Regions from separate parts of the Homo sapiens genome. Here regions 1, 3, 4, 5 and 6 are each linked to region 2. Evidence: promoter capture Hi-C in 16 types of primary human blood cells and fetal thymus (Javierre and others, 2016). All regions are on one chromosome and are shown on one strand. The core of a region is centred on a gene start or on the middle of the fragment in contact, and the rest is flanking DNA. Distances in the headings are between cores, read along the strand shown. Region 1 overlaps ZNF782 (zinc finger protein 782). Region 2 holds the start of TDRD7 (tudor domain containing 7). Region 3 holds the start of ZNF510 (zinc finger protein 510). Region 4 has its middle 15 kb from the start of ZNF782. Region 5 has its middle 9.6 kb from the start of ZNF367. Region 6 overlaps ZNF510 (zinc finger protein 510).

Region 1 (3,533 bases), core at 816-3,315, 580 kb before region 2:
TGACAAATGGGATCTAATTAAACTAAAGAGCTTCTGCACAGCAAAAGAAACTACCATCAGAGTGAACAGACAACCTACAAAATGGGAGAAAATTTTCGCAACCTACTCATCTGACAAAGGGCTAATATCCAGAATCTACAAAGAACTCAAATTTACAAGAAAAAAACAACCCCATCAAAAAGTGGGCAAAGGACATGAACAGACACTTCTCAAAAGAAGACATTTATGCAGCCAAAAGACACATGAAAAAATGCTCACCATCACTGGCCATCAGAGAAATGCAAATCAAAACCACAATGAGATACCATCTCACACCAGTTAGAATGGCAATCATTAAAAAGTCAGGAAACAACAGGTGCTGGAGAGGATGTGGAGAAATAGGAACACTTTTACACTGTTGGTGGGACTGTAAACTAGTTCAACCATTGTGGAAGTCAGTGTGGCAATTCCTCAGGGATCTAGAACTAGAAATACCATTTGAGCCAGCCATCCCATTACTGGGTATATACCCAAAGGACTATAAATCATGCTGTTATAAAGACACATGCACATGTATGTTTATTGTGGCATTATTCACAATAGCAAAGACTTGGAACCAACCCAAATGTCCAACAATGATAGACTGGATTAAGAAAATGTGGCACATATACACCATGGAATACTATGCAGCCATTAAAAATGATGAGTTCATGTCCTTTGTAGGGACATGGATGAAATTGGAAATCATCATTCTCAGTAAACTATCGCAAGAACAAAAAACCAAACACCGCATATTCTCACTCATAGGTGGGAATTGAACAATGAGAACACATGGACACAGGAAGGGGAACATCACACTCTGGGGACTGTTGTGGGGTTGGGGGAGGGGGAAGGGATAGCTTTGGGAGATATACCTAATGCTAGATGATGAGTTAGTGGGTGCAGCGCACCAGCATGGCACATGTATACATATGTACTAACCTGCACATTGTGCACATGTACCCTAAAACTTAAAGTATAATAATAATAAAATAAATAAGTAAATAAATAAATAAATAAAAGAGTTGATTCAGCAGGCCTGAGACTGCTACTCTTAGAAAGGCTTTCTTGTAAGGTTTGCCCTTGGCTGGCATCTAGAAACAAGATTCTCATAACTGCCGAGGGGCTCACCGTGCCAGCCCTGCACAAACAATATGATAGGGAACACCAGTTTTCCATCTCACAGTCTGTAATTTTGGCAGATGCTAGACAGAGGGTGTCTACATGATTAGCCCACAATAAAAACCCTGGGCACCAGTTCTGGGTAGACAACATTTTACATATGTTTTCAAAATTCATTGTTTAGGAAACTGTGCTTGGGGAACTATCTGAACTCTCAGAAGCTTGTAGCTTGTTTCCTACGAACTTTGCCCCATGCACCTTTTATCTCTGCTGATTTTTGTTTGTATTTTTTCAGTGTATAAATTTTAACCATTATTATGACTATACGCTGAGTTGTGTGAGTACTCCTAGTGAATCAGAGAACCTTCTTCTTGTTGAATTCAGTAACTCACCTGGGGAGTTCCTGCTTAGAAATCCTTTCTCTTTCTCTAATAACCATGGATCTTCTCCTTGTTCCAATGTGAAGATCAGTTCTGGTTTTGTAAAGCAGTAGCCTATAAATGGGAAACAATTTAGCATTTGCATTAGTTGCATAGGTTCTACTGTTTCTGAATGTGAAGAAGGTACAGCTTCAGAAGGGGCATATTCAGGGTGCTCACTGGACCTTCCTTGGGGAAGTAACCACAAAAAACATTTTCTTTCTTTTCTTACTTTTTTTTTTAGAGACAGGGTCCCTATGTCACTCAGGCTGAAGTGCAGTGGTGCCACCATGGCTCACTGCAGCCTCAAACTCCTGGGCTCAGGTAATCCTTCTGCCTCAGCCTCCTGAGTAGCTGGGACTACAGGTGTGCACCACCATACCCGGCTAATTTTTTAAAGTTTTTTTGTAAAGATAGAGTCGAATTCCTGGCCTCAAGCAATCGTCTCACCCTGGCCTCCCAAAGTACGGTGGCATAAGCCACTGTACCTGGCCAAAAAACATTTTCTTATTCTCATAAATGATCAATCTCCTTGAACCCCTGAACTGCACACCTAAGTAACATAAAATTCTAAAATGGCCAATGTCTTGGTTATTGAGGAAGAGATTTCATAAGGACTTCCATATCTGGCTGTAACAGGGTAAAAGGAACTGATTTCCATAACAGACAACTAAAAAACCAAACAAAATATAAAAAATGGTAATTAGGTTTTAGCCAAGAGGCAGTGCAGACAGGGATCCTTGAAAGTAGAGAAACAATGAGGTGAGCCCTATGATTATCACAGGCTACTTGTGAGAGAGTTGCCAAACCAGAGCGGAAAAAGAATACCAAAACAGAGCCTGGCAGACTTGGCAAGCTGATGTGACAAAATTGGATGTTTAAGGAAGCCCTGGCAACTAGAATTTGTGGGAGTAAATGCCAGCGAAGAAAGAGCTATACTGATATAAAATGTTGGAGATCTGCAGAAGGGTCTCCTGAGTACTGACCTGTATAAGCATATAAGAGAATCACTCAAGGTTAGGAAAAGACCAGTGAAAAAGAATAGGCTGAAAAATCACTACAGCATACACAAAGGCAGGAAGTTTATATCATCACCAACCAGGGTAGAAAACCTCCTAATTAATGACCAACAGGGTAGAATAACCAGAACGGTACTGCTTTAGTAGAGGGGCCAAATTAGTTCTAAAGTGAGCTCTGAATCCAACACAACAAAGCTTAAAGTGTACCTTGAAATGATCGAACTAATTCCAAGTAACTTAACTACATCCCAGAAAAGGCTCAGAAATATGTAAAAGAATACAACAAAATCTAGCAACTCACAATGTAAAATTCACAATATCTAGCACCCAACACAAAATTACTAGGTATGAACAGAAGCAGTGATACAAGACTCTTATCAAGGAGAAAAATCAATCAGTAACAACCAAATAAGAAATGGCCCATATGGCCAGGCACAGTGACACCTGTAATCCCAGTTTTTTGGGAGGGTGGGGCAGGAGGACTGCCTGAAGCTGGGAGTTCAAGACCAGCCTGGGCAACACATAGAGAGACTGGAAAATAATAAACAGAGTTATCTGTGACCTGTGGTTAAATAAATTTGTAGTCTAACATATATGTAATCAGCATTCCAGAAGAAAAAAAGGAAAGGGAGAGAAAATTCTGATGCAACAGTGGCCAAAATTTCCTAATTTTAATGACCTATATAAACCCTCAGATCCAAGAAGCTAAATAAATGCCAAGAGGAAACATAAAATCACACCAATGTACATTATAATCAAATTGCTAAAACCTGCTGAAAAAAAGAAAATTTTATGTAGACAGAAAAAGACATAATATATGCAGAAGAACAAAGAGAATTAAAGCTGACTTCTTGTTAGAAATTTTACAGTCTGGAAGACAGTGAAGTGATACTTTTAAAGTACTTAAAGAAAAAAAATCAACTTAAAATTTTATACTTGGCAAAGATAAGATGTT
Region 2 (3,683 bases), core at 347-2,846:
GCCAACACAACTGCCATGAGCACTCTTGTACAGGTTTTTGTGTGGACATCTGCTTTCATTTCTCCTGGGTAAATACCCAGGAGCAGAATTGCTGGGTTGCGTGGTAGGTTTGGTACATCCCTACAATACCATTCAGCAATAGAAAGACATGAACTATTGATACATGTAACAACATGGATGAACATAATTTGCTAAATAAAAGAAGCCAGGCAGCCCCCCAAAGGATAGTACATACGATTCCATACATAAAAGTTTTACATATAACTCTAGAAAAAGCAAAATAATCTATAGCAACAGAAAGCAGGTGAGCAGTTGAGGGGGCAAGTGACAGGGAGGGACAAGATATAAGAATTACAAAGGATCACAGTAAAACTTTTTTGGGTGATGGATATGTTCATGATTTTGATTGCAGTGATGGTCTCACAGTGATATATATATATCAAAACTTATCAAACTGTACATTTTAAACATTCAGTTTATTGTATGTCTTATACATGGCAGTCAAGCTGTAATAAAATACCGGTTGAATAAGCAGCAGGTTCTCAGTAAATGCATAATTTATCAAGCTGTACATTTTAAACGTTCAGTTTATTGTATGTCTTATACATGGCAGTCAAGCTGTAATAAAATACCGGTTGAATAAGCAGCAGGTTCTCAGTAAATGCATAATTTATCAAGCTGTACATTTTAAACGTTCAGTTTATTGTATGTCTTATACATGGCAGTCAAGCTGTAATAAAATACCGGTTGAATAAGCAGCAGGTTCTCAGTAAATGCATATCCAATGGTGCAGAGAAGTGTTCAATGTTGGCTGCAGGGATGCAAAGCAGGTGCCAATAAGTGTTGGTGGAATTAATGTGCAGAATAAATAAGTATTCACTTATTAGGTGTTCAATAACTTTAGAGTGAATGAATAAATTTGACAGATATTTATTGCTGATCGTGTGCTAGGCACTATCCTAGGCTCTGGGAATAGGTTAAGGAACCAAACAAAAATCCTTGTGCTCACAGAGCTTTAATTTTAGAAGGATAGCAGACAATAAAAGCATAAGTAAAATACATATAGTGTGCTAGATAGGTGCTAAGGAGAAATAAGGTTGAGAATGGGGATAGGGAAAGTCAAGGAAGGAGGTTGACATGTTAGAGACTGTGTCCACCGTCATTGAAAGGGTAATGCTTGAGAAAGGCCTGAAGGATATGGGCGGACAGAGTGTGTGTCTAGGGCAATAAAAAGTAACTGCTCCAGATGTTGAAGAAAATAATGTGCAGGAGTTGAACTGTTTGGAAGGAGGGTGAGCCCCATAGAAGGAGCCACCCTCGCCCCCTGCTGAGTCCCGGCTCGCTCGGCCCGCGCGTACCTGCGTTGTCCACCAGGAGGCGCTCCCGCACCCGCCCCGCAGGCGTCTTCCGCCGCCGGCCGGTGCGTGGGCACGCGCAGAAACCGCTAGGTGGCGACGGTTTCCCTTCCCACGCGCGGACGCCGGCGTGGGCCGACGCGGCCGGAGCGCCCGCGCGTGCGCAGAGCCGAGGCCAGGCTGCCCTCGAAGCGGGGCGGGGCGAAGCGGGGCGGGGCCGAGCAGGGCGGGGCGGGGGCTTGAGGTGATTCCCAAGCCGCGGGGCGGCTCCGGTGGTGCGGGGAAACCGAAAGTGGGCGGCGGCCGCGGCGGGGCCCCTGGCGGAGACGGCGGCAGGAGCTGGGCCCAGAGACGCGGGGACGGGCCGTGGGCCCCCGGAACGAGGTGAGTGCAGGTCCTGCGGGCTCCGGGCGCGACAGGTGCCGGGCGACGTCGGACGAGATTTCGGGCGGGCGCGGCGCACCTGGGTCACCGGTGGGACCGCGGCCAGGGCCGGGGGCTCCAACAGGCTCGGGGCCTTTTCCCTGCAGCCGCAGGGGATTGCCCCCGCCCCGACGCCTGGGAACCGGGCTGGGCGCCGGGGGAGTTGGAGTTCCAGAGCGTTGTGTTTTAAATCTCTGAAGGGACCCTGCTCCGGGCCGGGCGTTCACGCGGGAGTCGGACGGAGCCTCCTGCCGCCTCGGAAGCTCTGCGCCGTGGGGGAAATGCAGCAGCGGGGTGTGGACGCGGGCGGGAGATGCGGACCAGGAAGTGGTTCCCGCTACCGGCGCGACAGGCCGCAGCCGCCGCCCCCAGCGAGGGATGTCCGCGCTCCCCTATTTGAACCCAAGTATTTTACACCACGAACTTCTCTTGAAGGTCTCTATAATCTGGAGACGAGCCCCAGGCAGGCCGCTTAAGTAATGCAGGACACACATCCCCATTTCTCTCAAACGAGGAGCACCCAGTGGGTACAGAGCACCCAGCTGGGAGGGAAACATGGATCCGTGAGTAAGTTGTCTCTCAACTTTCAGTAGCATCCCCTCAGCAGGGTCAGACTCTCAGCTTCAGCTTGCTAGGAGGGAGCTTGGAGCCGGCATATCTTTCTGCTCCCATTCACTTGAGAGGTATATTTCCATTAATAGCTAAAGGTACCATTCTCAAATAATTTCTAAGAGCAGGGAAGGGAAACAACCACATTAGAACAAGTCCTGGCCCAGAAGAATTCTGATCACCGCCCATCCAAACCAAACCAAACCAAAAAACCACAGATCTAGTTCATTAACCCTCCTACCAACACCTCTCTGCTCTCCAATCGTGCCGGTGAAAAAAATGCAGAGAAATGTTCTCTCTAGAGAGATAGGCAACAGCTTAATAGCAGAAGTAAAACTTGGACCCAAATCCCTGTCTCGTCCTGGGCTGCCTTGATGTGTATGAATGTGTTGCATACTGCAAATAATGTGAACTTTGCAGACCTGGATTGAAATCTGGGCTTCTCATTTTACAAATTGTGTGATCTTGAACAAATTACATGCTTTCTCTTAGCCTGGTTTTCTATGTGTCAAATAGAGGTACCTGGCTTACTTTGCAAGGCTTTTCCAAGATAACCACTGTATATCCTTTGCCTCATAATAATTGCCAAGCAGTATTCACTCTCTTCCTCCCAACAAACGGTCCATGTTTTACATAATTGGATTTTAGTTTTTTGAGGGCAGGGACACAAAGATCTTTGTGTTTACTATATAATATAAATGGGCACATGGTGGATATTTTTGCATTTCCTCTCAGCTGACATTCATTGAGCATCAGTTACGTGCAAAGTACTGTTCTGGGTATAGGGAATTGCCCCTGGGGCCAGCTGGATTAGCACTCACATCTCCTGTGCCCCAATCCAGGGCCCTTTGGTGGCACACAGCCTCCGTCTTTGGTAGTTGCACGGTGAGACTGTGAGGCAGCAGTTGGCAGTGCCTTCAGATTTCAGTCTCTGTAGATTGAAAATGAAGTGTAATCCCCTGCTAATGCCCTTTTAAGTGTACAGGTTGAACATGGCTGAATGAACTATTGTATTGTGCATCAAGAGATTTTAAACTCCTTGCAGAACCCCTCTTTTAAGTTCTCTGTGCAATATAATCTAGCTGGATACTTAATGTGAATATAAAGAAAAAATATAATCCAACCCCGAGTGCCTAATTTGTGTTTGTCAAGTGCTGTTTTCAAGAATTGAGATTTGACATAGAGTGCTTTGCATCTGGACACTTTCACAGAAGTTCCTTGGTGAAATTTTATATTTACGTGAACTGTTGTTTCTTTGTGCCAAACCTGCTTTTTCCTCCCTCCACTCCCACCTCT
Region 3 (3,566 bases), core at 885-3,384, 630 kb before region 2:
TTCCTGTGCAGTCTGACAGTCACCCACGCCTCTCAACCCCAGCTTACCACCTTCTGCAAGTTGGCCCACAGTGTTCAGTGTCACACAATCTGTGATGGCTTCTGGATGTGGCGACATCACCAAGTCTGGTGCTCTCTGGGCAAGGGGATGAAGAAGTGCCGCTGGTTGGGCAAATCAAGACCTGCTCCTTTCTGGGTTCTTCTGCATCTGTTTGGAAGCCCTGGTGAGGAGGTCTCTGTTCTGTCAGAGAGCAGTTCTTCGGTGGGACTCCTGTTCCTGGGGCTCCCTCCTTCCTGCAACATAAAGAGCTGCTTTGCTCCAGAGAAGCTGGGGCTGATGCCTGGGTAACAAATTTATTTTAGTTGAAACTTTCATGGAAAACAGTGTTCTTCACGTCAGCACAACTTCCATTTTGGGCTGGATAATCCTCTGACATAAGGAGTGGTCCTGTGCATTGCAGGATGTTTAAGAGCATTTCTAAACATGCACTAGACACTAGGACACCCCTTCTCCCTGTTGTGACAATCAGAAACGTCTCCAGGCCGGGCGTGGTGGCTCACGCCTGTAATCCCAGGACTGTGGGAGGCCAAGGCAGGTGGATCACCTGAGGTCAGGAGTTCAAGATAAGCCTGGCCAATATGGTGAAACCCCACCTCTACTAAAAATACAAAAAATTAGCTGGGCATGGCCATGCATGCTTGTAATTCCAGCTGAGATTACAAGCTGGGAGGCTGGGGCAGGAGAATCAGTTGAACCTGGGAGGTGGAGGTTGCAGTGAGCCAAGATCACACCACTGCCCTCCAGCCTGGGCGACAGAGAGAAACTCAGTCCCCTCTCCCCCCACCAAAAAAGTCTCCAACATTTCCAAAGTTCCCTAGGGAGCAAAATCCTCCTGGTGAAGAAGTGACCTAAGGCCTTAAACCTGATTCTCTTGGCATTAATTAGAACCCTGCTATCCATGACTACAGCCTCCAATCACATCAACTACTGAGCACTGGAAATGTGGCTAGGACCACATGTTGAAATAACATTTTGGATACACTGAGAAAACCACAGTATGTTCTTAAAATTAATTTCATGTTTTAGATTTTCATGTAGCTACTAGTTTAACATTTAAAATTACGTATGTGACTCATCTTCACTGCCCTAGAATATCAGACTGACTTCTAAAGACAGAGACAGGAGGGACAGCACAGGAGGTGGCAGGGGCCTCAGTCTAACCCAGAGGCTCTGGAGACATCCCAGAAACCCCACAACAAATACACTTGCCACATAGTAAGATTCTGTCCACACTGACTTCACAATCATTGTCCTGGGGTTTTGGGGACAATCACTCAGTGCTGTGAAGGCTGCAATGCTGGGTTAGGTAGGTAGGCCATTACAAACAGCCTGATTCGGGGAGTAAAGTGTTTATGTATTGACATCCTAGCTCTCTCATCCTTTGTGAGCTTGGCTCTATCTTTTCACTCCTCCTTCTTCATTTTTAATGATATAAATAGGGTGGTTGTGAGAATTAAACGAAATACTACATGAAAAGAACAAAGTGTCTTCCAAATATAACGGGAATCAACATTTACATGCTGCTTAGTAACTAGCGCTTAGCTAAATGCTTTACAGGGGATGGCTTACCTCTGAACGACACAAAGCAGTTTTTACTAATATCCTCATTTTCAAACGCTCAAGTGACAGAGCCAAAATTCACGAGGTCCTTCTAGCTCCTAGGCTCGGCCTCTCACCGCAGACCCACGGGCTGTACGCGCTTTGTGGCAGGTTCATGGTCAATACAATAAACGCGCATTCCCCTCCTGAAGCCAGCACCGCGTTTTCCGACGCCTGGCTGCATTCTGGCGCCCATACCTCGGCCCGCACCGAGCATCTTCCAACTAGGACTCAGCCCCACCTAACGCCCCCGGAGCCCGCCCCCACCGGCCCTTCTCAGGCTGAGGTCCCGGGCCGGCCGAGGCACAGGGAGCGACGGCCTGCTTTGGGGGAGTTCCCGGGACGTCGCGTTCCCGCCCCCTGGACACTAGCACATCCCTCCCTGCAGGTCCGCAATCCGCGTGGAGGCCCGGCGCTCTCACCTGAGCTGCGAACCCTCTGCACCAGCAAACACTAACAGGGAGAAGCCGGAAAGTGGGGTTGACTGCACATGCGCAGACGAAAACGCGCATATCCGTTCCCAGCATGCTGCGCGGTAACCCATAACATGCAAGACTACGTTTCACATGCAGTACGGCGCCAGCTGTCAGTGTTTTTTTGTTTGTTTTTCCCCCAAGATTTATGGCGTAATAACATGGACCGTCCTGATAACTGGAGCCCGGGTTCTGTCAGAGCCCCAGAGGTTGTGGGTTAGACTTGATGACATAACAGCAAATGCAGCGTGTGGTTACAGAAAGCAAGAGCCGCGGAAGACGTTTGAAAACAATTGGGAAAATTTGTATACGGACTGGAAATTAGAATTATTAATTAATTGTGGCAGCATTGGGATTATGTAGGTAATCTTGCTTATTCATAAAGAGATGTCTATGTAAGTATTTAGGATTGTATTATGTTTGTAAGTTTTTGGGTTTTTTGGTTTTTTTTTTTTTTTTTGAGACGGAGTCTTACTCTGTCGCCCAGGCTGGAGTGCAGTGGCGCGATCTCGGCTAACTGCAACCTCCGCCTCCCGGGTTCAAGCGATTCTCCTGCCTCAGCCTCCCAAGTAGCTGGGACTACAGGCGCCCGCCACTACGCCCAGCTAATTTTTGTATTTTTAGTAGAGACGGGGTTTCACCATGTTGGCCAGGCTGGTCTCGAACTCCTCACCTCAAGTGATCCGCCTGCCTTGGCCTCCCAAAGTGCTGGGTATACAGGCGTGAGCTACCACTCCCGGCCCGTTTGTAAGTTCTTTTTAAAAAATAATTAGAAATGGGAAGTATGGCAAAATGTTAAGAATATCTACTTCTAGAATATGGACATGCTTATTGACTATGTGTTGGAAAATTTTATAATATAAAGTTGATAAAGGGAAAATTGGGACTGTAATGTTACAAGTGTGCCTTTTAACTTAGAGCTGCCACAAAAATACATAAACAGCTTTGTGAATAAAGCCGTAAAATGTAACAAATACTAGAAAATGGAAACCATTATTAACATAAAAGAATAATATTTGTGATCCTCAGTTTATCTCTGGGGGGAAAAAAAGAAAAAGCAAGTAAGCTGTTCAGCATTACATAATACCTGAAGTACACACAATCCCAACTAAGAAAACCGTTATCCACAAATTATGCATCTCCTAGAGATGAGCTTGCTTAAATCTTATGTGGTATGCTTCTGAAATCAGGAACCAAATTAGGAACCTCTCAGCACAGTATTTTATGACACTCTTTTTAGTAACACACATACACTCACACACACACGGTTGATACTTTCTAACAGGTTATTTTATATGGCAATGATAAGTTTTGATTAGCAAGAAAAAAGATTAATGGCAACAGTAAACTAGTGCAGTATATATGAATCAAGGTATAAAATTTTACTGTTGACACTGAAAAACACTTTAATAGATACTGGAGGAAAAGACTAAC
Region 4 (3,429 bases), core at 708-3,207, 540 kb before region 2:
AAAGAAGTGGAAATAAGTAGAGAGACTCTCTCAAAGAATCGCTGAGAAACACAAAATATTCATAAGTAGTATAAGATTTACTTATGTGCATTTTTGAAGATTATACAATAATCAATTTGCATCAGGCTTTCCAATTTAGGAATACTGATAGGATTTCCCTGTAGGGGGAGTTTTCACATAAATTTTGAAGAAATCATTAAAACTGAAAACTTTCCTGTATTTTGTAGTCTACTGGAGTTCCAATCCAGTGTGCTTTCTTATATTTATAAGGCCAGTCTACAATGTGTGTTATCATAGGTCTTGGAGCAAATATCACGTAAATGAAGGCATTTCTGCATTCTATACATTCATAGGTTTTATTTCAGAAACGAGTTCTTGTCTTCATGTGGAACTGGAACAACTGACGACCCTACCACATGTTTGTATTTATAAGGGTTTTCTCCCTTGAATCCTTTCATGTTTTCAAAGAAATGAAAAAGCTGAAGGCTTGACTATGTTTCTTAAGATTATGTAGTTTTTCTACGTATTAAAATTCAACTATGCCTTTGAAAAGATGTGGGAAAATCAAGTTCATTAACACGTTTTTTACATTCATTATTTTTTCCAATACAAGTTTTTCTAAGTTTTCAAAGAGAACTGGGAAAGTTGAATGCTTTCTTGTGTTTCTTTCATCGATAGGGTTCTGTACAGTGTGAGTTCTTTTATGTGTTCTAATAAACTAGAGCATATGACGGCTTTACCACATTTCTTACATGAGAATAATGTTTTTGAAGATAGCCCAGTTGACTAACATTGTCCTGTGTTGGTTTTGTTGTGTTTCTCCTTCCCCAGGCTTGAGTTGGGAAACCAGTTCTCCCACTTCATTAATAATGATGTCGATGTTCCTGGCAGTGTTTATACCAAATGCTACTTTGACCTTTGCGCCTTGGCACACGACAGTAGCCTATATTTGCCATTTTGTCTTCTTGACATAGAAAGAGCATGGGAACTGAAGGTAAGGCTATGAAGGTACTAAGTGGGCTTTCAGTCAAACACCAATGCCAACATCTGCAACTAGATCATATTAAGAAGTGATTAGAAAAATGAAAAGCTTCAAAATTAACATACTGAAGAGCTTATTAACCTTTTTGGCATGTAGTTTATGGTTTATACAAAGATTCACATTATTTAAAAGTTATAGATATCATCTCTTCTGTAACCATAATTCAGAATATTTTAATCAAGTTTAATTCATCCTTAATGGTTTTCCTTTTGAACTGCTACCCTTTCAAATAATCATACATAAGTGATTTCTTGCAGTTGTATTCCTAATATCTACATATATAATGCACTTAACATTCTTTACTATTTGTTATCATTTAGTTTGCAAATTTATATCATTTTCTACTGTAATATACCACAGTGCAGTGAGTCCCATGAGTTTGTTAGACAAAGCATTAGTGCCTAAGCCAAGAGACCTGCACTTAGACTGTATAAGGTATGTGTGTCTCAAGTACTGGATGCAGGAAGTACATGGGATTCTACCGGAAATGATAACTTTTATGGGGCAAAGTAATATTTATGGTTTGTGACTTTCGGTGAGTACACAGCAAAATTACTCACAACTGACATGGATGAACATTTAAAATAGGCATTTTCGGTAGTAGCTGGGAAGTATTTTGAAATAATACATTTTCTACCATAATTAATGTCCAAGTGAAGTAACACCTTTTGATGCTTTAGTCATTAGACTTATTTGACATTCCAATGCAGTCCAGCACATACCTGCTTCATTAAAATTTGCTTTGAGTATATAATAACTACTACAGATTGGGTAGAATTTGAATACATTCATAAACTAACTTTTGCAAAAGTGTGCATTCATTATGTTTAAGGAACAAGTGCACAGGTAACAGATGATACTGCTGTTAGAAGACTGTCACAATACTGTGACATCTTTAGGAGCCCAATTTTTAAATAACTTAATAAAACAAGTTCCCCCTTTGCTCCAGCAATCTAATTATAGCCCTTAAAGGAGACTACCTTAGAGAGTTGACAGAACTTGGCATTGTAAACCTCAGCCAAAATAGCTGTTACTGAACTATCTAAGGGAGTCTGCATGTGTGGCTTATCATCAATGGTGATTGTTACAGGTTGGAATCCTTTTTGAAATTGTACCTCTTTTCTATTTGATTGTCTTTCTTAGGTTGTTTCAAGGTTGGAAGACAAAGACTTCTATGGTACTGCCAACAAAAGGAAAAGGTCTTTGAGTTCTGATGATTTAATTGATCTTCAGTGCCTTAAGGCCATCCTCTCCTGAAGGAAGAAGTGAGGGGTTATATAACATCTGAACCCCTCATCAAAAAAGACAGGAAAATATCACCTTTCCTGCTGAAGAACTAGAAAAGTACTTTCAAAAGAAGAAACACCTACAATTCAAGTTAACTCAAGGACAACTAGGATTGCACTTCATAGAAAAGAATGGGACCTTGTCAATGCAACAACACACTCTTACACTCTTCTGTCCCTTTTAATGTAAAGAGAGTTATAAAAACCACTCCAAAGTGAAGGCTCCTATGTGAGCTGATAGCAGTGAACTATGTAAGGGTTTAAAACAATGGTTTAAATTTTTAGATTTTAAAGATAACTTTTCTGTTTCTTTTATATTTTTCTTTCCCCCAATATTGCTGCATATGCATTTAGCATCATATTACCATTAAAACATAGGACTCTTAACAACTCATAAAGCCACTAGGAGCAGATGCAGCATTGTCAGGTACTGAAGGGGCTCTTCCTTCCTACTCTTAGAATCGAAGCTACTAGTTACTGGCAATCATTTTAAGCAAAAGCTTCTGGATAACATTTGCCATTCATATCCTCTGTAAGCACTTCTTATTAGCAGTTAGCATGTTTGGGGTCATAAAAAGAGAAAATATTGGTTATTGATTATCTACTTTTATTAGGGTCTGTGGTGTATTTCTTGTGAACTATAATGGTTCTCATTTGCTGATAAATTTTCTTATTTTTTAAATAAAGGTATTAAAAGATGTTTTCATAGTGCCAAGCAACATGGTGATCCAGTGGTAATAAAAAATGATAAAACATGAGGTGTCCTGAAAGTTTCAGGACAGTTTTTAGCTTTAACATAGTATGCTTGTGCCCTCCAGAGCACTGAAGCATACATATGCAGGCTATAAACCTTTACAAAATATAATTTGAAATTTTAATTGTATTTCTTCTTTTTTTTTTTAAATAGATGTTGTCTCAGTATGTTACCCAATGTACAGTGCAATGATTATTCAGAGGCACAGTCATAGCATACCACAGCCTGGAAATCCTGGCCTCAAGCAATCCTCCCATGTCAGCCTACCAAGCAGCTGGGACTATAGGTGTGTACCACCACCTCTGGCTTCATTTTGCAGAATTTGAATATTAAGCATTTAACTTTTT
Region 5 (3,712 bases), core at 424-2,923, 980 kb before region 2:
TGTCTTTTTTTCTGTTCCAAGATCCTGTCTGGATCTTACATAGCATTTAGGGATTATTTGTCCTTAGTTCCCTGCAGTGAGTAACAGTTCTTCAGTGGCTCAGTGGCTCCTTGTTTTTCCTTTTTTTTTTGAGTCAAAGTCTCACACTATTGCCCTGGCTGGAGTGCAATGGTGCCATCTCGGCTCACTGCAACCTCTGTGTCCCGGGTTCAAGCGATTCTCCCACCTCAGCCTCCCAAGTAGCTGGGATTACAGGCACCCATCACCAAGCCCGGCTAATTTTTTGTATTTTTAGTAGAGATGGGGTTTCACTATATTGGCCAGGCTGGTCTCGAACTCCTGACCTCGTGACCCGCCCGCCTCAGCCTCCCAAAGTGCTGGGATTACAGGCGTGAGCCACCACACCCAGCCCCTTGTTTTTCATAATTCCGAATTGGTCAGAATTACGAAATTGGCTGGGCGCCAATGGAGAATCCTTTCTCCATTCTACGGAGAAATAATATTTCATTGTATAGCTATACTATATTTTGCTTATCTATTCATCACTTGATGGATATTTAAGTGGCTCCCACTTTTTGCCTATTATGAACAGTGGTGCTGTGAACATTCGTGTGTCTGTTTTTATGTCGATATATGTTTTTATTTTTATTTTTGGTTATACCTAGGTGTGGAATTGCTGGGTCATAGAGCAGCCGTGGGTTTAACATTTTGGGGATCCGACTTAACTTTTCCAAAGCAGCTGCACTCACTCTGTTACCCAGGCTGGAGTGCAGTGGTGTAATCATGGCTCACTGCAGCCTCAACCTCCCGGGCATAAGCAATCCTCCCACCTTCGCCTCCCAAATAGCTGGGACTACAAGTGCACAACACTATGCCCAGCTAAGTTTTGCATCTTTTTTGATACAGACATGGTCTCGCCTTGTTGCTCAGGCTGGCCTCAAACTCCTCAGCTCAAGCAATCCACCCACCTCAGCCTACCAAACTGCTGGGATTATAGGCGTGATCCACCGTGCCAAGCTGTCTCTTAATTTTTTTTAAGAATTCTATATATATGAGAACATTGCCCTTTTGTCTGTAGTATATGTTGTGAATATTTTCTCCCAAGCTGTCATCAGTTGTCTTTTGACTTCATTCATGAAATTTTTATCACATGACTTTATTTAAAAATTTATCTTTATCCTTGTGATCTGAAATGCCACCTTTTTCATATACTAAGTTTCCATATGTATTTGGGTCTAACTTTACATTCTGTTCTACCAGTCTGTTTGCCTGGGTTTTTGTTTGTTTGTTTGATTTCTGTTTTTTGTTTTTTCGAGACAGAGTCTTGCTCTGTCGCCCAGGCTGGAGTGCACTGGCGCAATCTCGGCTCACTGCAAGCTCCACCTCCCAGGTTCAAGCGATTCTCCTGCCTCAGCCTCCCAGGTAGCTTGGGACCAGAAGTGTTTGGGATTTCAGATTTTTTTGGATTATGGAATTTTTGCATATACATAATGAGATATCTTGGGGATGAGGCTTAAATCTAAACATGAAGTTAATTTACATTTCATGTGCACCTTATACACGTAGCCTGAAGGTAATTGTATACAACGTTTTAAATAAAAATAAAGGTGTGTGTATGTTGAACCATCAGAGGCGAAGATGTCACTATCTCAGCCACCAATGTGGACATCCCCATGCTTCCTGACTCTGCATTTATATGATACCAATAACCAATCATTTTCTTAAACTCACACATACGTACTTACCAGTAAAAAATATGACATTTCATTAATGCAGTGAAAAAATAATGTGTTCAGGGCACCCAAGATAGCATCACCAGATACCTGCATCAGTGGCTAAACAACAGCAGCTTCTGGTCTCTACCTATGATACTACCTTTTGATTGAAAGGCTGTACACTGTATCTTCTTTTTTTCAGTGAAAAAAAAAAACATCAGTAGCAGTTAAAGGATCAGGAAGTGGGTCCCATAGGGGTGAGGAGGCATCTGCTGGATGGCTTTTGAAAATGTTTCATTCAGCATCATCTGCCTCATTAACAACAGTTTCTGTCTTTTTTTTTTTTTTTTGAAATGGAATTTCACTCTTGTTGCCCTGGCTGGAGTGCAATGGCGCGATCTTGGCTCACTGCAACCTCCACCTCCCAGGTTCAAGCAATTCTCCTGCCTCAGCCTCCTGAGTAGCTAGGATTACAGGCATGTGCCACCACGCCTGTCTAATTTTGTATTTTTAGTAGAGACGGGGTCTCACCATGTTGGTCAGACTGGTCTCGAACTCCCAGCCTCAGGTGATCCACCCGCCTCGGCTTCCCAAAGTGCTGGGATTGCAGGCATGAGCCATCACCCCGGCCAGTTTCTGTCTTAGACGTCTCTCTTGATTTTTATGAATTGACATGATTTCTTGTTTGGTTGTGAATGCACACTGCCCTAGTTTTCAATAAGCCCATCATACATTTTCACCAGGTCCTCTATAGGTGCTTTTTCTATAGTGTTAACATCATCATCTTCACTGTCACTGTTATCACGATCACCTTGGTTCAGAACCAACTCAGATATTTCACCCTCAGTTAGTGAAGGAACAAGGCTCATTAAAAACGTCTTGAATATCCACTTCTTCCAGCTCTGACACAGACTACATATATATATGTATATATATGTATATATGTATATATGTATATATGTACATATGTATATATGTATATATGTACATATGTATATGTGTATATATGTATATATATGTATATGTGTATATATGTATATGTATGTATATTGTGTATATATGTGTATATATGTATATATATGTATATATATGTATATATGTATATATATGCATATACGTATATATGTATATATGTATATATGTATATATATGTATATATGTATATATATGTATATATGTATATATACGTATATATGTATATATGTATATATACGTATATATGTATATATGTATATATACGTATATATGTATATATGTATATATGTGTATATACGTATATATGTATATGTATGTATATGTGTGTATATATGTGTATATATGTATATATGTATATATGTGTATATATGTATATATGTATATATGTATGTGTGTGTATATATGTATATATGTATATGTATGTATATGTGTGTATATATGTATATGTATGTATATATGTGTATATATGTATGTATATATGTATATATGTATGTATATATGTATATATGTGTATATATATACACACACACACACACATATATATATATATATATTTTTTTTTTTTTGAGACGGAGTCATGCTCTGTCGCCCAAGCCGGAGTGCAGTGGAGCGATCTCGGCTCACTGCAACCTCCACCTCCTGGGTTCAAGCGATTCTCCTGCCTCAGCCTCCCAGGTAGCTGAGACTACAGGCATGTGCCACCACGCCCAGCTAATTTTTTTGTATTTTTAGTAGAGATGGGGTTTCACCATGTTGGCCAGGCTGGTCTCGAACTCCTGACCTCAGGCGATCCACCTGCCTTGGCCTCCCAAAGTGCTGGGATTACAGGCGTGAGCCACCGCACCCAGCCGACACAAACATTTTTGATGAAAATTTCAGCTGGGGAATGAGCAAAATCGGTATCAAGGAATAACAAAATCTTACAGTCCTCATTCAGTTTAGTTTCTTTGCAGTGAGCACATGCCACTAGTACAAAATGTTTGTGAAAACAATTAGAAAAGCTGTCCCTGATGATCCCTGCC
Region 6 (3,353 bases), core at 23-2,522, 650 kb before region 2:
GGAAAGACACAGAAGAGGAGAATTTTGCTGCGTGTATTCATTCAGGCACAGACTTCTTTATCTTGTACCATGCCACATTAAAGCACGGCACCAAGCTTGTCCTAGAAATGATATCCATTTTGTTGTGACAGGGCCCTGGTAATTTATTAGGGAAGTCTCTTATGTTTCAGACTGGGATGTGATATACATCATGGACATCCACATCTTAGTAGCCAGTCACAAAGACCAACCTGGATGAAAAGGAGATTGGGAAATCTGGACTATGTGCCTGGAGTAAAATGAAATTGGTGCTGGTGAAGAGATTACCAGCCTGTGTGATGTGTGGGAGCTATCTAATAGGGTATGACTTCATTCAGGCCTATCCATAGTACTCTGAAAACAGAAGCCTGTCTGAATTCTTTGATACACTCTGAAGGTTGCATTTTGGACACAATTCTTCCTGCATTCATCTTCATCTGGTTTCTTTCCTATGTGAATTCTCTGATTCACAGTGAGGGTTTACTTCTGGGACTGTCTTCTTACATTCACTACCCTCAATTGGTTTTTTGTGTATCTCTGATATCAAATGGGGTATTCCTTTTGTCAAAAGGATTTTCTAGTTATTACATCAATAGGGATTCCCCTCTCCCTGAATTTTCTGGTATAAGCTTAGGGTAGACTTCTTACATAATTTCCCATATTCATTGCATTCATAAGATTTCTCCCCACTGTGAGTCCTTTGATGTATTCTGAGGTTTGATTTCTGGCCAAAAGTTTTCCCACATTTATTACACTGAAAGGGTTTCTCCCCTGTGTGAATTCTCTGATGATCACTAAGGATTGCTTTCCGGACAAATTTCTTCCCACATTCATTACATTTAAATGGTTTCTCCCCAGTGTGAATTCTTTGATGCACTCTGAGGGTTGATGTCCGGGCAAAAGTTTTCCCACATTCGTTACATTTGAATGGTTTCTCTCCCGTGTGAGTTTTCTGATGTTGAATGAGATGATCTTTTCGCCAGAAGGATTTTTCACATTCATTACACTGGTAAGTTTTCTCCCCAGTGTGAGTTCTCTGATGTATTCTGAGGTTTGACTTCTGGCCAAATGTTTTTCCACATTGATTGCATTGAAAGGATTTCTCCCCTGTGTGAATTCTGTGATGATCTCTGAGGGTGGACTTCTGAACAAAAGTTTTCCCACATTCACTACATTCATAGGGTTTTTCTCCTGTGTGAATTCTTTGATGTCCCCTGAGGGTTGACTTCTGGACAAATGTTTTTCCACATTCATTACATTTATAGGGTTTTTCTGCTGTATGAATTCTCTGATGAGTACTGAGGTGTGACTTCTGGGAGAAAGTTTTTCCACATTCACTACATTCAAATGGTTTCTCTCCTGTGTGAGTTCTCTGATGTTGAATGAGATGTCCTTTCTGACAGAAGGATTTCCCACATTCATTACATTTATAGGGTTTCATCATTGAGTGACTTCTTCGGCGAACTCTGTGAACCGACGTCTGGTAGGATTTCTTATTTTCATGATATTCAGAGGATTTAACCCAAGTCTGTGTTCTGTCATTACTTACCAATGGGTTCTCTTCTATGACAGCTGTTTGAGGATCAGTGAGGTGTGCCTTTCTGTTGAAATTATTTCCACTTGGATTTAATTCATAATGTTTTATACCCATATTAAGTTTATTATATTCCTCCACAGTTGACTTCTCAAAGGATTTCCCACATTGATTAAGATGCAGGTGTTTCTTCCCTGTGCCAGTTCTCCTGTGGTCAAAGAGAGTTTTCTTATCACAATTTTTCCTAAATTCATCATCTTTAGAGGATGTTTCTCCTGTGTGAGAACTGTTATGTTTAACACAGTTAGCCTTATCATTAAAGGCTTTTCCAATTTTATTACATTCAAAAGCTTGCTCCAAAGTTTGAAACTTTGGATGCTTGGGAAGATTTTCATTATAATTGAGAGCTTTCATGTTTTTATTATGTTCATAAAATTTCTCTCCAGTCTGAGTTTTCTCAAAGTTAATTTTGAAAGGTGAATTCTCACATACATTACCGCAACCTATTTTCTTTGTTGAATAGTTTCTATTATTAATGATAAATTCAGAAATACTTTGCAAATTCACTTCCCATGAGTTGCATTTGCAGGACATTTTTGTTGAAGCAACAGCAGCTACATGCAGAGTAAATGGTTTCCCCAAAACTTTCTCTTCCTCTGTAGTCAATGTTTTATTATTGATACATATTGCTTGCTCCAAGTGTTTGTCTTTGATTTTCTTGTTCTGCTTGATCAGGTCATCACCTCTGTAATCTTCTAAAACAGAAATATTGAAAACATCTTATGACTCTTACATCTTCTGTGGGTAGAGCTTTATCAACATACAGCCTATGTTGCACCTAATTATTTGATTTATCAAGATTAAATAATTCAGATGTATGTGTGTGTAAATATATATATCTCAGACCACCCTCCTTTAAAAAATAATATTGATATAGTGCAAATGGGAGAGGAAGCTGGTAATGAATACATATTTTGCATGTGATTAGTAAGATTTTCCTAACTGGATAGATAGAGGAAAGAAAATAAAATAAAACTAAGCGTTTTATAGGGGTAGTTATTTTAGGGAGCAGGAAAAACAGAGAATGGGATAAATACAACAAAAACTCTAAATGTAAGTAGTATAACAAGGAAAATCAGGAGATAACAGGAATTTTGGAATAGACTCAACAGGGAGGGGGTTTAGAAGCTGAAAGTAAATTACAGTCTAGGTCTTGACATTATCTAGATTATAATGGTTAGAATAGTCTATTGTCTACATTCTTACAATTTGATATCCCTCATCAATTCAACATCAAATTAAATTTATAACAGCACCAACTCCTTTATGATTAAATGAAAAAGTTTATAGCTCTAACCTGTCTTATGGTTGTGATTCATAGAAATACAAGCAAGTATAAAATTGTTGAAAATAAAATCCATTCATGCAACTAACTTAGATGCACTGCTCCATTCTGGCTGTCATAGCATTGATTTATTCCATCAGAACTAAGTGCTAAGTGAACCTGATCATCCCATCCTGAGTTTCCACATTTCAATCTGACATGAGGGGTACAATTTTAAATAGGGTATCACAGAAAGTTCTACTGTGAAAATGACATTTAAGAGAGGTCTGGATTCTTTATGCATTCTAAATGCCTATCCTTGACAGGTCATATTGCAAATATCATCTGCCACTTCTCGCTTACCTCTTAACATTTTATTAAGCATGAAACAATATATATCTGCATAAAACTTTCATGTGCAACTTAATACTATTAAGTGAACACTCATGGAATCAGAAACCATGTCATGAAACACAA

The links. Contacts are between HindIII fragments. The CHiCAGO score rates a contact against its expected background, and 5 or more counts as called.
Region 1: a fragment that was not itself captured here is called in contact with the fragment with the promoter of TDRD7 in region 2 in 9 of 17 cell types (total CD4 T cells, total CD8 T cells, naive CD8 T cells and 6 more); the score reaches 8.0 in total CD4 T cells.
Region 3: the fragment with the promoter of ZNF510 here is called in contact with the fragment with the promoter of TDRD7 in region 2 in 1 of 17 cell types (total CD8 T cells); the score reaches 5.4 in total CD8 T cells.
Region 4: a fragment that was not itself captured here is called in contact with the fragment with the promoter of TDRD7 in region 2 in 17 of 17 cell types (naive CD8 T cells, naive CD4 T cells, neutrophils and 14 more); the score reaches 17.0 in naive CD8 T cells.
Region 5: a fragment that was not itself captured here is called in contact with the fragment with the promoter of TDRD7 in region 2 in 1 of 17 cell types (neutrophils); the score reaches 8.2 in neutrophils.
Region 6: a fragment that was not itself captured here is called in contact with the fragment with the promoter of TDRD7 in region 2 in 1 of 17 cell types (naive CD8 T cells); the score reaches 5.5 in naive CD8 T cells.

What each region holds. Positions count from the first base shown.
Region 1 is chr9:96,825,548-96,829,080 of GRCh38, forward strand. ZNF782 (zinc finger protein 782) reads right to left here. Exons shown (of 6, transcript NM_001001662.3): 5 at 1,533-1,634. Among named protein-coding and RNA genes, the nearest start is that of ZNF782, 27 kb to the right of the region's middle. The HindIII fragment of the contact is 1,412 bases long and covers 1,360-2,771 here.
Region 2 is chr9:97,410,500-97,414,182 of GRCh38, forward strand. It overlaps TDRD7 (tudor domain containing 7), which reads left to right and starts at 1,597. Exons shown (of 17, transcript NM_014290.3): 1 at 1,597-1,739. RefSeq lists silencers at 1,284-1,633, 1,654-1,863, 1,948-2,242 and enhancers at 1,578-2,079, 2,080-2,579, 2,184-2,443. The HindIII fragment of the contact is 7,534 bases long and covers 1-3,683 here.
Region 3 is chr9:96,775,953-96,779,518 of GRCh38, forward strand. ZNF510 (zinc finger protein 510) reads right to left here and starts at 2,135. Exons shown (of 6, transcript NM_014930.3): 1 at 2,082-2,135; 2 at 48-293. The coding sequence starts at 117. RefSeq lists a silencer at 1,896-1,995. The HindIII fragment of the contact is 7,758 bases long and covers 1-3,566 here.
Region 4 is chr9:96,868,069-96,871,497 of GRCh38, forward strand. It overlaps a transcript of ZNF782 not described here and the pseudogene LOC100132781. Among named protein-coding and RNA genes, the nearest start is that of ZNF782, 15 kb to the left of the region's middle. The HindIII fragment of the contact is 1,738 bases long and covers 1,089-2,826 here.
Region 5 is chr9:96,426,110-96,429,821 of GRCh38, forward strand. No RefSeq gene overlaps it. Among named protein-coding and RNA genes, the nearest start is that of ZNF367, 9.6 kb to the left of the region's middle. The HindIII fragment of the contact is 4,183 bases long and covers 1-3,712 here.
Region 6 is chr9:96,758,171-96,761,523 of GRCh38, forward strand. It overlaps ZNF510 (zinc finger protein 510), which reads right to left. Exons shown (of 6, transcript NM_014930.3): 6 at 1-2,307. The coding sequence ends at 608. Among named protein-coding and RNA genes, the nearest start is that of ZNF510, 18 kb to the right of the region's middle. The HindIII fragment of the contact is 1,255 bases long and covers 646-1,900 here.